Linked DNA regions of Homo sapiens: region 1 is linked to region 2. The links are contacts of gene promoters, found by promoter capture Hi-C in blood cells and fetal thymus (Javierre and others, 2016). All regions are on one chromosome and are shown on one strand. Each heading gives the region's core, a stretch centred on a gene start or on the middle of the fragment in contact. The rest is flanking DNA. Distances are from core to core; before and after follow the strand shown. Region 1 holds the start of TAS2R20 (taste 2 receptor member 20). Region 2 holds the start of PRH2 (proline rich protein HaeIII subfamily 2).

What was found. The method cuts DNA at HindIII sites, captures the fragments that hold promoters and counts their contacts. A CHiCAGO score of 5 or more calls a contact.
Region 1: the fragment with the promoter of TAS2R20 here is called in contact with the fragment with the promoter of PRH2 in region 2 in 4 of 17 cell types (neutrophils, activated CD4 T cells, non-activated CD4 T cells and 1 more); the score reaches 8.8 in neutrophils.

Annotation. Positions count from the first base shown.
Region 1 is chr12:10,996,598-11,003,990 of GRCh38, forward strand. TAS2R20 (taste 2 receptor member 20) reads right to left here and starts at 1,707. Exons shown (of 1, transcript NM_176889.4): 1 at 1-1,707. The coding sequence starts at 1,278. The coding sequence ends at 349. All of the region lies in intron 3 of PRH1-TAS2R14 (PRH1-TAS2R14 readthrough), which reads right to left. The region is part of intron 3 of PRH1-PRR4 (PRH1-PRR4 readthrough); the gene reads right to left. It also overlaps a transcript of PRH1 not described here. The HindIII fragment of the contact is 1,654 bases long and covers 481-2,134 here.
Region 2 is chr12:10,924,224-10,930,733 of GRCh38, forward strand. It overlaps PRH2 (proline rich protein HaeIII subfamily 2), which reads left to right and starts at 5,013. Exons shown (of 4, transcript NM_001110213.1): 1 at 5,013-5,114; 2 at 6,046-6,081; 3 at 6,439-6,510. The coding sequence starts at 5,051. All of the region lies in intron 4 of PRH1-PRR4 (PRH1-PRR4 readthrough), which reads right to left. It also overlaps a transcript of PRH1 not described here. The HindIII fragment of the contact is 3,246 bases long and covers 2,449-5,694 here.

The DNA of each region.
Region 1 (7,393 bases), core at 457-2,956, 69 kb after region 2:
AAATGAAATATCATATAAAAAAATGTGTGAAATACACATGGGTTCATAATTCTGAGAAATTTCTTATCCTACTTTGGTATAACTGAACAGTTTATATGAAAAGTTGATTAAAGGTATGTTATGGTAAATATTAAATTTTCATATACATTCAGACATACACACACACGCAAATGTATATTATATATATATACTTTTATATAATAAACTTAGGTAAAAGACTTTTCTATGTCAACTTTTGGAAATTACTCAAATACATAGACTACGGAAAAACTTGTGGGAAATATAAAATGTTCCAGACACCATCAATTTGTTTTCTGCTAGAAAACACACAATGCACCTCTTGTGAATCTATGGAGTTGACTGGTTCTGTCCTTTTGCCCAGCAAGTCACCTGCCACAAAACTGAAAGAAAGGTCTGCTTTAGCGTCTTGTTCCCCCAAATCAGAATGAATGAGTGGAATGATGGATATATGATTCCAAAAGCTTGGCAAAGCATTAAGACAATTTCTTTTGGTCGCATCTTAAAATTCCAAAACGATATGATTAGACACAGAAAGTAAATGGCAAGTAATATGAGGAAGGAGGTCACAGTTTGCAGAGCTTTTATGTGGATCTTGGTGCTGGGATCTTGAGATCCTTTGCCATGGAGCTGCATCTTCTTCAGATGTTTACACAGAGAGTAGATTAACAGCAGAAAAGATATCAGGGTCAGAGTGAATGGTATCAAGTTTGCTAGCATGGCTACAGTCAAGTTGGAAAGGTGCATTGCATTCCTCAGTTTGATCTTCCAAGTTACGTTTCCTTCACATTCTTCTGTCCACACATTTATATACGTGTGTTTCATCACAAGGTGACAAACCAAAAAGAACAAAGACCCCAACACTATCACCAGAACTACACTCTTAGCCTTCCTTTTTAAGTGATGAAAAATAAGTCTGGAGAAATTGACGATCTTGAGCAAATAAAATATGCTGAGGCTAGTAGCAAGCCAGATGCTGAAATGATTGGTTACTGCCCAGGCATTAGAAATAAAAATTATTACTTTTAAATTAGATGAAGTTGGATTCAACACAGTTGAATACCAATGTAATAATATTACCCAGAGCAAACCAACTCTGGAGACTGCCAGAGCAGCAATAATTTGATCAGCTGAGGAGATCTTTTGTCTCTTGACCCAGGCAATGAAATTTATCAGTGCTATAAAGCCATTGGCAAAATTTCCAAGAATAAATGCAACCACTACTAGAATGGAAAAAACAATGTGTAGAAAACTCATCATGTCTAAACAAAAAAGCAAGTAAAAAATTCAGGCCTAATGTCACTGATGGTGACTCCTCTGATATTCAAGACTTTAAGTTAAATATGCACTTGATTCCTGAATGTCCAATAACATTCTTTATACTTTTAAATTCTGTGAACAATGTCAACAGAAAAGCACCAGCTTAAACTAATGAATGAGTTCAATGCTGCCTTTATGGGAAATACTGTTAGTCCCAAAACAACTCAAATTAATTCTTATTCATAAAGTCTCTATTCTTGCTATAGGCTGAAATTTTTCATACTGATGTTGAAGGGAAAGCTGAATTCTCATTTGCTAGCATTCAAATAAAGACATATCCTCTTTCATTGCTTTGCAATTTTTTCCTTGTTTCACCTTTCCATAATTTGTGTTCAGCCCTTCAGTTGTTGGGGAAATTTTAATACCCAGTACATAGATGACACAAAAAATATATTGTTAAAAGAGCCTGGTGAAATCTAGGATCAAAATCACTATGGATTTATTTTTAAAGCCAGATTTAAATACACAGAATCTAAACTTTTTATCAAAATCACCTAAGATTTTCTTGGAAACCACAGGAAAGCCAATACTCCTTATAATTTGGTTGCTGTTAACCAATACTTCTATATGGCATCACTATTAACAAGCTCATAAACACACACACAGACACACACACACTTTCACTCTTCAAGGATGGAAGGAATTGCTTTCTTGTAACTTATGACATGGAAAATGAGTTTCCAGGAGCTCGTCCTGGTGGAATTAGTCCTATTTTTCCCATGCCAGATTTTCAGCCAATGAATAATATTCATGAAACATATCTCTCATGCTTAGGCTTTTGGTAATGCTACCTGCAAGCTTGTAAACATTCCTGAGTACCAGACCTTTGTCACATAATTTTGCAGTGTCCTCCCACCACAGGCATAGTGACAACCTTGCACTAGGGCTCTGAGTTCGATCATGTAATTTGCTTTGATGAACAGAAAATTACTACACTTTACATCGAAATTTGAGATGACCTCCACATTAGGCTTTCTTGTTCCTTTCCGGTTTATAATGAGAACATGTCCACACTAACACACTGTTCCCAGAATAAGAATGAGTAACTCATGGAATCATATGGCTCCTGCCTGATCCAGCCTTAAATCGGCCAAACTCTAACTAGATCCAAGAGGCAAAACTTGGACCATCTCAAATCACCAGAGCCATCCACCAAACCCCAGCTTAAGAAAACAGAATCCAAAAACATGTGAGATATAAATATCTAATGTGGTTTTGGAGAAGTTTCTTTTGCAGAAAAAGCTAAGTGATATAGGTACTCTGCTAATCCAAGAGTTTGAGAAATATGTGCGCCCTTGTTGTGTCAGAAATTCAGGAGCCAAAGGAAAAATAGGTTGGAAATATCAAAGTTTTTGTAATATGAGGTGAATATCTAAAACTAGAAGAAAACTTTTGGAAAGATCTGGAGGCTGTAGGTAACAGCATCTCAAATTTCTCCATTTTGCAACTAAAATAAGAATTCACTTTAGCTCTCTTGAGTTGTATAAGAATGTACGTAAATGGTGGATTTTCCCCCTAGGTATATAATGAGCAGAGCAATTAATAATTTTTACGTGACATTTCTCCCAATTTGTAATTTTTTAAATAAAATTATAATGCACACTTAGAAATGGGCCAAAACAAAAATAGGTAAGAGCAATGTATCATAAACACTTATGTAACCATCATGCAGGATAAGACATGGAACACTGCAAACAGACTAGGTCCACTTCCAGGCCACTTTCCAAGCCCCTAAACCTTTATTCACATCTCCTGAGATAAGCAATATTCATAATCTATGATGATCATTTGCTTGAATTTCTTTATACTTTACCAGCTAGGTTCACAACCCTAAACTCCACAGCTTGGTCTGTCCTGCTTTGAACTGTGTATAGGTGCAGTCCTGTGTGTTCTTCTTGTTCATGGCTTCTTGCACTAGATATCATGTTTCTGAAATTTAGTTACATAGTTGCATGTACATGTGATTCATTTCTTTTCACCTCTATATACTGTTCCACTGTATGGATTTACTGTAATCTTTCATATCATTCAATCATCCTTAGTTAATATATATTTGGGCAGTCTATTTTTGAGCTATTATGAATAATACTACTATCAGCATTATTTCACATATCATTTGATGCAATTCCTATTATGGGGTCATTAAATGTGGTGTTCAAATTATCCTCACAGACATAGAAAAGTGCAAAAAATAATTTATCTAAATTTGTTCCTGTCACCTTTACCTCCAGTCTCTTTATCGCTATTTGCATATATCTTATCAATAATATATTTAACTCAGCAAGACGCTATTATTTTATTCAGTCAACATTCATTTAGAATTATGCACATATTTATCATTTCTGTTAATTTTTATTCCTTCTTGCATGCTTAACCTTGTATTTTCAATATTTTTTATCTGAAAAATATCATTTGGATTTCTGTTTATGAAGGTCCTCTATTCTTTTGAAACACACTAAAGACATGATTCCATTGAATTCTACTTTCCATTTTTCTGTTGAAAATCAGGTTGTCATTTAGAAAGTTGTTCCTTTTAAAATAATCTATCTTTTCCTCTGGCTACTTTTCAGATTTTCTACTGGTCTTTGATGTCTTGTGACATTTTATGTTAATTTGTTTTTAGTTATCTTGTCTGACCTTTGATGGTTACTAAAAATATATGGATTAATACATTTTATCACTTTTGGGAAAATCTCCACAACATTGATTCTGCCCTATTTTATCCCTTTTAATCTTCCAGAAATCCAGAAGTATGTTAGATGCTCTGATTGTAGCATCAATGCCTCTTATCCTCTTAGCTTGGCATTCTTTGTCTTGTGGTCTCTTTAGGCTTCTTTCTTTATAGTTGTCTTCCAATTCACTAATTCTCTCTTCTATGTCTAACTGGTTGTTAACTCTGTCTATTGGATTCTCAATATTGATTATTTATTTTTTGCTATTATTGTTTTAGTAGCAGAAATTATATTTTGTTCTCCTTCTATAAATCATTATCTATGGAGAAGCAGAACAAAGCACTCTTACCACCAAGTTTTTTAAAAAAAGTTGGGTTCTTTGTTCAGTTGGTTGGCTTTGTTTTTTTGTTTTTCGTATGCTTGACATGAAAATGCTAACAATTTTCTTCTTTTCCCAAGACTTTGGTCACAAAATAGAATAAAAGCTTGGTCTACACATCCTTCCGCAAGTTGGAAGAACCTGGAAATTGATGTGATGTTAGTAGCTTTTTTTTTTAGGGGGGGATAGCAGCTTGTCTGTTGATGAGTCTTCACCACAAACTCTCCCCACAGGGAAATTCAATGAGCTGTGCTGGATCTCAAGATGCCATTCCAATAAATAAATTATAGCACCTCAACCCTAGCTACACCATTCTATTTTACAAATTAAATTTTACTCTTTTTTTATTAGCAGAAGTGGAGCTCTGTACCTTCAAACTTCTTCACTATCAGGTGAGATATAGAAGATGTGAGGGCTTACTTCTATTTGATTTATTTAGTCCTAAAATTCTCACTTTAGATGTGCCAGCAACCTGTGTGGGCTGATGACTTGGGGCAGGATGGGAGAATGCCAGGGGATAGATGCACAAAGGACTGGACACCTCCTTGCCTCCTCCCATCCTCCTCAAAACTTCAGCACAACTCTGAAGCAAAGTGTGCTTGTGGGAGAACCCAGAGTTGCTTAAGATTTAATTTCTGCCATCAGGTTAATGGAGCACCTAGGGAAATTAAGCTGAGTTTTAAAAATATCCAGAAAGTTAAATTTGTTGTACATGTGAGTTTCTGAACTGCGATTAGGCTTTACTTTACCTGGCATCAGGGAGTGTTATAAATCAATTATTTAAATATTCATGTAAGGTGTAAAAAGGAGTAGAAGTACACGTATCAAATTTCCATAAATAAACTTTGCAATATAAACGTAATTTATACTATTAATTCTTTGTCAATAAAATGTGGAAAGGTTAAAAAATAAATAAAATAAAACCTTCACTTTAGAAGTAAGAGCTTGATCATGAAGTGGCTTATTTATCTTTCTAATTAAGGAATTTTATTAACACCGCAACTAAATCTTTCCTATAGTGTTCCTAAGATCAGTTTAAGGTTATCTATAATGATTTGCTTAAGCAATGTATTTTAAACTAAACTATACTTAAAAATGTATTTGGTTCAACTTGAAATTTTCCATTTTCTAATCTAACTTTCCCATAATAATAATCTTTTAAACATTTATTAGACATTATCCAAATTATTTATGTAAACATTTCAAAAATAAATCATTTAATGAGATAGATATAGATGATGATTGGTGATGATGATAATGTCAGTTAAAAGGGGCCATGCTCTTCTATAAATGTGACTTCAATCATGTTTTCTAAGTGCTGCGTTTCAGGGTGATGGGCTCATGAACTTGTTTCTTATATTATTCTCAGCATCAGGCACAGACAAAGATCCTCAGACAGTATTTCATTAAGAATAAGTTAAAACCAATGTATTTCCAATGATTTACTGGCTATTTTTTTTTCTTTTACCACATTCTGAAAATCATGACAAAAGTGCCCTACAACAAAGAGTATTCTCCTTTGGGCTGTTTAATTTTCACTGTACTTTCATATGAACTTCATATATACAAATCCTCTATACAATTATATAGCATACAAACTGTATTTTATCTTTTAATAGTATCATTAGCAGGCAAAATTCTCTCAACTGCTTATTTACAATCTCAGCTACTGTCACTAAATCTGGGTTATTTTACTATAGCAGTCAAAGTAATACTACATATACACAAGCACACTCAAAGATTACACTAAATATGTTTTATAGCTTAACAGTTATCTTTCTATGTTTTCTTCTCTAATACAGTTGAAAAATTTATAGTAACAAAATATTTTCCCCAACACATATGCTGTGCACATGCATAGTATTGTGATCTTTGAATGGGAACAACATGAGTATAATTATTTCATTTAGGGATAAATGTAGCAAAAATTGTCCTATACACTTAATATCTATAGTCCTACATACTTTAATATTTGTACCTTATGAAAAATTCCCTAATTGCTGCCAATTTGAAACGTGTATCATGAATAATTAAATTGGAAACAAGAAAAAAGTCTATTGCAATATAGTTGTTCAAAATCTATTGTTTCAAATTAAGATTAGCATTAAGAATGTGGATGTACACTTCCTGCTTATATCTTTCTTTTTTAAATTAATTTTTAAAAGTATAAAATTTTATCCCTATTTCTTACTACTATAATGCTGTATTCTTTATTCAGCAAAACTCTAATTACGATGGTACATGTAAGAATATATTGTTTCAGCCTAGTTTTATATTCATTAATTTACTTAATATTTCTGCTTTTAAAATATTTTCATTATTCGGGAACCTAACATATGTAGGGAAAGCAATAAAACCTAAATGCACAGTAAAAGGAAAAAAGAATGTAACATTAACACTCATATTCCACACTTTCGTCAAAAAGTAGAATTTGCCAGCAATGAAGACATTCCCCATATATGCTTTCTTGTTGATATGATTTCCCTTTTGTTTCCTCCCTCCCAAGTATCCCAGTTATGATAATCACTTATATGTTTCGCTTTACAGTTTTGCCACCAATGTAATAAATTATAAGAATTTATTTCAAATTATAAGAATTATAAAAACTTAAAATAAAATTTCTTTTATGAGAAGTTATAATTTCTTTTATAAAATGTTATAATTTCTTTGGTAAGGAGTTATAAGAATTTATAATTTCTTTTATAAGCAATTATAAGAATTTATTTGCAAAAATACAAAAATATTCTTGCAAATTTCATATAAATGTGATTATATTGAATGTTTTTGATGTTAATAATTACTATTATATCTGTATATATTACTATGCTATCCATGTAAATCAAATTTATTCACTTTCCTTTTCATATATATTCTTTGTAAACATGTCCCTCTAGTTTGTTCATTTTGATTGCTGTATAGCATTCTGTAAGTATGTCATAATTTATTTATCCATTTTATTACTGATGGTCATTTGGGAGACTTCTCAACTTTAGCTATTAAAACT
Region 2 (6,510 bases), core at 3,763-6,262:
TGATCCACCCGCCTCGGCCTCCCAAAGTGCTGGGATTACAGGCGTGAGACACGGAGCCCAGCCTCATTTCTCCATCTATTCTAAGTTTCTATTTTTATATAACAAATCATTCCCCAAATTGCAGGCTTAAAACAGCAGTTTATTACTTTTTTCCTCACGATTCTGTGAATTGCCTGGACTTAGTGGATAGTCTCTCATTGTGGTATTTCATGTAGTTGCCATCAGATAAGGGATGGGACCACAGTCATCTGAAGGCTCAAATGGGATGAACATCTACAATGATCCAACTCAATGGCTGACATAGGGAGGATTCCCTCTTTTTCTACTGATTGGAATAGTTTCAGAAGGAATGGTACCAGCTCCTCCTTGTAACTCTGGTAGAATTCGGCTGTGATTCCGTCTGGTCCTGGACTTTTTTTGGTTGGTAGGCTATTAATTATTGCCTCAATTTCAGAGCCTGTTAGTGGTATACTCAGGGATTCAAATTCTTCCTGGTTTAGTCTTGGGAGGGTGTATGTGTCGAGGAATGTATCCATTTCTTCTAGATTTTCTAGTTTATTTGCATAGAGGTGTTTATAGTTTTCTCTGATGGTAGTTTGTATTTCTGTGGAATCAGTGGTGATATCCCCTTTATCATTTTTTGGGGGGTCTATTTGATTTTTCTCTCTTTTCTTCTTTATTAGTCTTGCTACTGGTCTATCAATTTTGTTGATCTTTTCAAAAAAACCAACTCCTGGATTCATGGATTTCTTGAAGGGTGTTTTGTGTCTCTATCTCCTTCAATTCTGCTCTGATCTTAGTTGTTTCTTGCTGTCTGCTAGCTTTTGAATGTGTTGGAGAGCAGTTTCTCATAAAAGCTTGTGGATTCAACTGTAAAAGTGGCAATCCACTCTGACTCCCCTCTCCACTGCAGAGAGCTTTCTTCTTTCACTTATTAAACTTTTGCTCCAACCTCACCCTTTTGTGTCCACACTCCTTAATTTTCTTGGTCATGAGACCATGAGCTCAGATAACACCTTAGTAATAATATCAATGACCCGGACCTGTTTTGGTAACACCAGCTCTGGGGCCAGGACACAGGGGCACTCTCAGGCAGAAGACTGAAATCTGTGCAAGTGGTATACAAATTTATCCCTTCATACACAAATCTCAGGCCAGTCTCTCTCTTGGACTTCTAAAATTTTACATTCATTGTGATGAGAATCAACATTTTTGGTTCATTTCAAAGGACAGGCTCAAGTTTTGCCAATGCTAATATGGCTCAGCAGAAAAATGCATGTGGCTTGTATTAAGAAAGCACATAAAGGATCTACATTGACTGGGTTTTCATAATCACAAAAAACGAATAAATTTGTATGAGTATCTTTATATGAAGGCAAGGAGGAAAACAGGTGAATGGAAGCCTACGTAAATGTGCTTATGATTTAAAACAAACTTATTTCCTCAGGAAAAATATATTTTTCACCTCACCTGTTAAAGTCTTAGGAAAGCTTAACCTTGATAATCTCCTAATAACAGAACTTATGTTTCTTTTCTGAACCTCATTCCTTCTCATATTGTAATAATGAAATGAATAAATGAATAGCAAGTGAGTAGTGGTGCACACTAAACTCTGAGTACTGACTGCCTTCTATTCCACTTAATACCTTTATAAGAACATTGTTATGTACCTAAGTCATGTCATCTATAAAACTAAGGTAATGATAACAATCATATGTCCCTAATATAATGGTTTTGATGATTAAGTGGAACATAGTAAATGTTTAAAAATGTTTTCTATTATAACCAATTTGGCTAGGATAGGTGGAAAGAATAGAAATATGATAATTAATTGTGAAATGTATAATATATATTAATAGGTCATCAACATCAAATTAAAAAATATAGATGATTACCATGATAGTGAAACCAAAGTTTTTAGACAAGTCAAAGCAAAGTTGAAGTCTCAGAGACCATTGTGTTTATTTGCTAACTGTATTATCAGACTGCTTAGTTGATACAGTGAATACAATAATTCTTCCAATGTACATAAACTGCCAGACAAGCAACTCAATGCAATTCACTCACTCTCGGAGAAGTTTATCCCCTCTGCCAATGTTCATCTTTCCTGGCAAACCATCCTTCAGTATTCCAGGCAAACTAGAGCAAGGTGAAGTTGAAGAAGATCCTACTTTATATTCCATTCAGAGAGCTTCCGGGTCTTCAAAAAAGATTTAGTCATGTGGGTGTGAAAGAGCTGAGTCATGAAATTTGGACCTTATTGTAAGTCCAGAAGGAAAAACAAGGGGTTTGAAGCACAAGGGTGATATGATCTAATTTCTACTTTTAAATGATCACTCTGATTGTCGTGAGGGAACTGATATGGGATGTACTGGGGGAAGAATGTTACCAGGACCAGGTCGAGGCTGTTAAAGACCTCCAGGAGAGAGCATTGTGGGCCGAACAACAAGCTTCTAGTAAAGATCATGCAAGTGGACACATTTGAGATGTATTTTGAAGGTGGAAGAAATTAGATAAGCTAATGGGTAGTGCCTGGAGGGAGTGAGGATTTTTGAACCACTAGGTAAACACCTGTGAGTAACAGAGAAAAAGTTGGGATGTGTTATGAAAGATGAATCCTAAAATTTCATATGTTGAAGACTGATGCTTCAGGACCTCAGAATGTGAACATCCATAGTAGAAGGGAATTGTGTTGTTGACGGCTGCCACCCACTCTAGGTGCCCAAGCTCCTGCAGCAGTCCTACTTCTCCCTTTCACCCACACTCACTCCCAGACAGTGTCCCTTTCAGCTCTTCCATCACCCCTTCTTTTGATTTGGCTGGTGAGAGCATAGCTGGTATTTATACTTTCTTGATATGCTAGTCTCTTTTGCTGATTGTTGACATTGGAGAAGGTCATGGAAGGGACCTGAGCTGAGCGACCTTTAGGAGCATTTCCTGTTCTTTTCCTGTACTCTGCTGCCAAGGAGAAATCTGTCTTTCACCAGGCTTGCAGCTTTCTCCGTTACCCACATCATCAGGCAATATCTGTCTGGCACCCCTCTTTGTTCCCTTTCTCTGGCCTTCCTTTTTGACATGATGGTTGACCTGAAATCACCAAGGCAGGACTGCTCATCTCCAGGTCTAATGGAAAACAGTATCTGGTGAAACCAAAGAAAATAATCCCAGTAACCCACTGGGAGCTGCTTGGCTTAAGCACCTACCCTGTGCCTAAGATACAACCCATCAAGCCCAGCTAAAACTGATCCAGTTTCCACAGGGCCAGAGAAGAATTGCCAATTAAGAATGCATTCCCACTTCAAATATGTCTATATTTATTTCAGGGAAAATATCAGTCTGCCTGGGTCCCTTATGAGAACATTGTTGTCTGTAGAAAAATCTAATCTATTAGGAAGCCTTCTTGTTTTGTTATCTGCAACTCTTCAGAAGGGCCAGACCAGACCCTCGTATGCACAGTACAGGATCCACCCATGCACATCTGTCTAGGGCCTTGTCTTTATGATTTTCTGTCACATGGCCTCTCAGCCATGCCTCCAACCAAGCTATCCTCAAATAAACACTAGCCGTGCACAAAAAGTGAAAAATTACACAAGGCCTACACAAGGTCTGAAATGGAAAGTGCAGCTGGTGATACCGAGTAGTATATTTTATGAATTGAGGAACAGGGAATTTCTAGGTATCACAGAGCAATCAGCAGCTGAGAAGAGGAGTACCAATCCAGGACCCTGGAAGGATTTTTCAGAAACTTAATAGTTTATTGTCCAATTGTAGAGACAAAAATGAAAATAAAGATAGTGAGGAGTACCATACACCATTGCTTAGAAGATTAAATAAATGTCATCTCCCACAAGTCATGTGGGGAGAAAAAAACTATATAGGAAGAAAATTACAAACGACAAGGTAGTCTCAGCATATAAAATATCAACAAATGAATGTAAGAAAGAGAATGAGAAAGAATTAGTATTAGAATATCATAGAAAAAATCATCTTTGTGAAAGAAAACTCTGATGAAACTGGTGACATAAATACTGAGTAAAAAACAGAAGACCAATCAAGGCATTTGAGGCTTGAACAGGCATTACAAATCATCAAGTTGAATATATAAGTATGGCCACTTAGTTATTAGTGGTGAAGACTACGGTATTTGTTAGAAGAAATAAAGTAGATGATGAATTCTATAGAATATTCTGGAGAAAGTGGAGGTCTTAGCTACATGACATCGTGTGGCTCACTTTGGGAACCATGTTTCAGTTTGTTTAGGTCTAGAAATTCCTTGGTGGTTTCTGTGTTCAGTTTTGCTTTAATAATCCCTAAAGATATTTTTTAAAATACAAATTTTTTAGCTTTCCTGTATTGTACAGCACCAACGCTTGCCTGAGTGTAGTGAGATTCACAGAGTTTGGAAATTTCCTGTAGCATGAGGAGGCTGCGGGGCAGCCTTCTGTCATCTATGTGTACCCAGCAGTGTGCTGTCCTCACACAACTCACGGATAAGCAGAAAGCATCTCTATTACATGAAAAATTTAGCTAAATATACAAATATCCATGCACACACATCATGAGAGATGGAAATAGGCTATCAAAAGAGTCAGACATATTGACCGTCTTCACTGTTAGCTGTAGGATTGCTGCCCAACCCCCTGACACACCCACACAAACTCACATACACACAAATGAAAAGCACAGTGGAAAGCAGAATAGCAGTCTTTCCAAACAGATTGAAAAACAAATGATGTCTAAAGTTCAATCCTGACACTGTGCTGATTGCTTGGACACAGTTCCGTCAAAACATTTGTCCAAGTCATAGTTGTACCTTTTAGAAATTAGCCACAAACAACATCCTCCCCAACCCTTCCTGCTAGGCTAGAGTCCCAGAAGAAATGAGGGATACACTTGACCTGAAGTAAGCAAAGCAGAACCCAGTCTCTGAGGCGAGGAGGCCCACCTGGTAGGGAGCTCAAATGCGCCATTGTCCTGCTTGTCTTTATAAAGGGAGCTGACACGTTTCTCCCAGCATAAAGTTGGGAGTGACACCAGAGCCTTCTGCAAGATGCTTCTGATTCTGCTGTCAGTGGCCCTGCTGGCCTTCAGCTCAGCTCAGGACTTAGATGAAGGTAAGCCGAATTGGGGGAAGATATTGTGACTCTGATTGGGGTTTACGGGCGAATGCTATAGAGGGGGAAAGTGGAGGGAAGAGAGGAGGATGAGAAAACAGATAGGACTGAAGAGTTCTCATGCCAAGGATCAGAAGACCTGTTGTGCCTTCATTCCTCATCAAGACCTCATAATTTATTGATTGCACAAATAGAACCCAATAAAGAATTTGTACCGGGGGAGTGAGAGAGTGAGATTTGCATTTATAGAGACATGGGACTGCTGGGAAGGATATGGAGAATGCAAGACAGATTCAGGGAAGTGCAGCTGTGAAGATCCTATACTGATCCCAGTAGACAGGGATGATGGTGGCCTTGCTGGACAGTGGATGAGTATCCATGAAGGAGATAAACACATGTCAGAGCTATTGCTGAGGCAGAGAATTGGGTAAACACTTGCCTCTGTCTACATAGAGTTAGAGAATCACCAGAGTGAAATATTGTCATTTTTTTCTCTCCTGCATGTAGTATTTTAATGTGCTGGGACGGGCATTTGTAAGATTGTATCTAAGTGGCTATGTCTGGTGGCTCCTGTTGAGAAAGCTTGCAAACATAAACAACATATTTACAGATGAAAGAGGGCAGAAGGATCCCCAAATATTTCATTGAAATACTCAAGAGCCCTTTAACTAAATAAGCACTAAGGCTTAAGGAATCATGAGAGGACAAACAGGGGCCCTTCTATGTTGAGTTCCTGGTTGACGCTCAGTGTAGTAACAATCCTGCTTTCCCTTACATCTTCTTCCACTTCCGGTAGCATCAGAGAGTGGCTGATGAGATCTCAAAGGGGATGCACAGGGTGTGATCAGAGGTCCTTTATCCTCGTAGAACACTATGAGCTCTGAATGATTCATGCAGTAACTTTTCCCATCATCCTGTACTTCTTTTCTAGATGTCAGCCAAGAAGACGTTCCCTTGGTAATATCAGGTAAATCCCAATAAATTCTCAGTAAACTCTGTCTCCATTTTTCCCTGAAAAATTGATCAGTTCTCCAGTGTCTTCTTATCATCCTTGTCAGGAATTGGCTAATATCAGTGCCCCAGAGATATAAACAGTTTTCTCCCAACCTTGATTCTGGGGACCATGAGTAAAGAAATTTGATTTTTCACCACCCTAATGTGGATTAAGAGGAGTTCTAATTAGGAAGCCTTGGGAAGGGGGGAGGTTGGGAGTTGAGAGGCAGGTCAGGGAGAGAGGGGCCGGCCGTGTGGTGAAGACAGAGAGATATGAAGACAGGAGGGTTTTCCAGCATGAGCTCAGCTCTTCTTGTTTCAACTCACACAGATGGAGGAGACTCTGAGCAGTTCATAGATGAGGAGCGTCAGGGACCACCTTTGGGAGGACAGCAATCTCAAC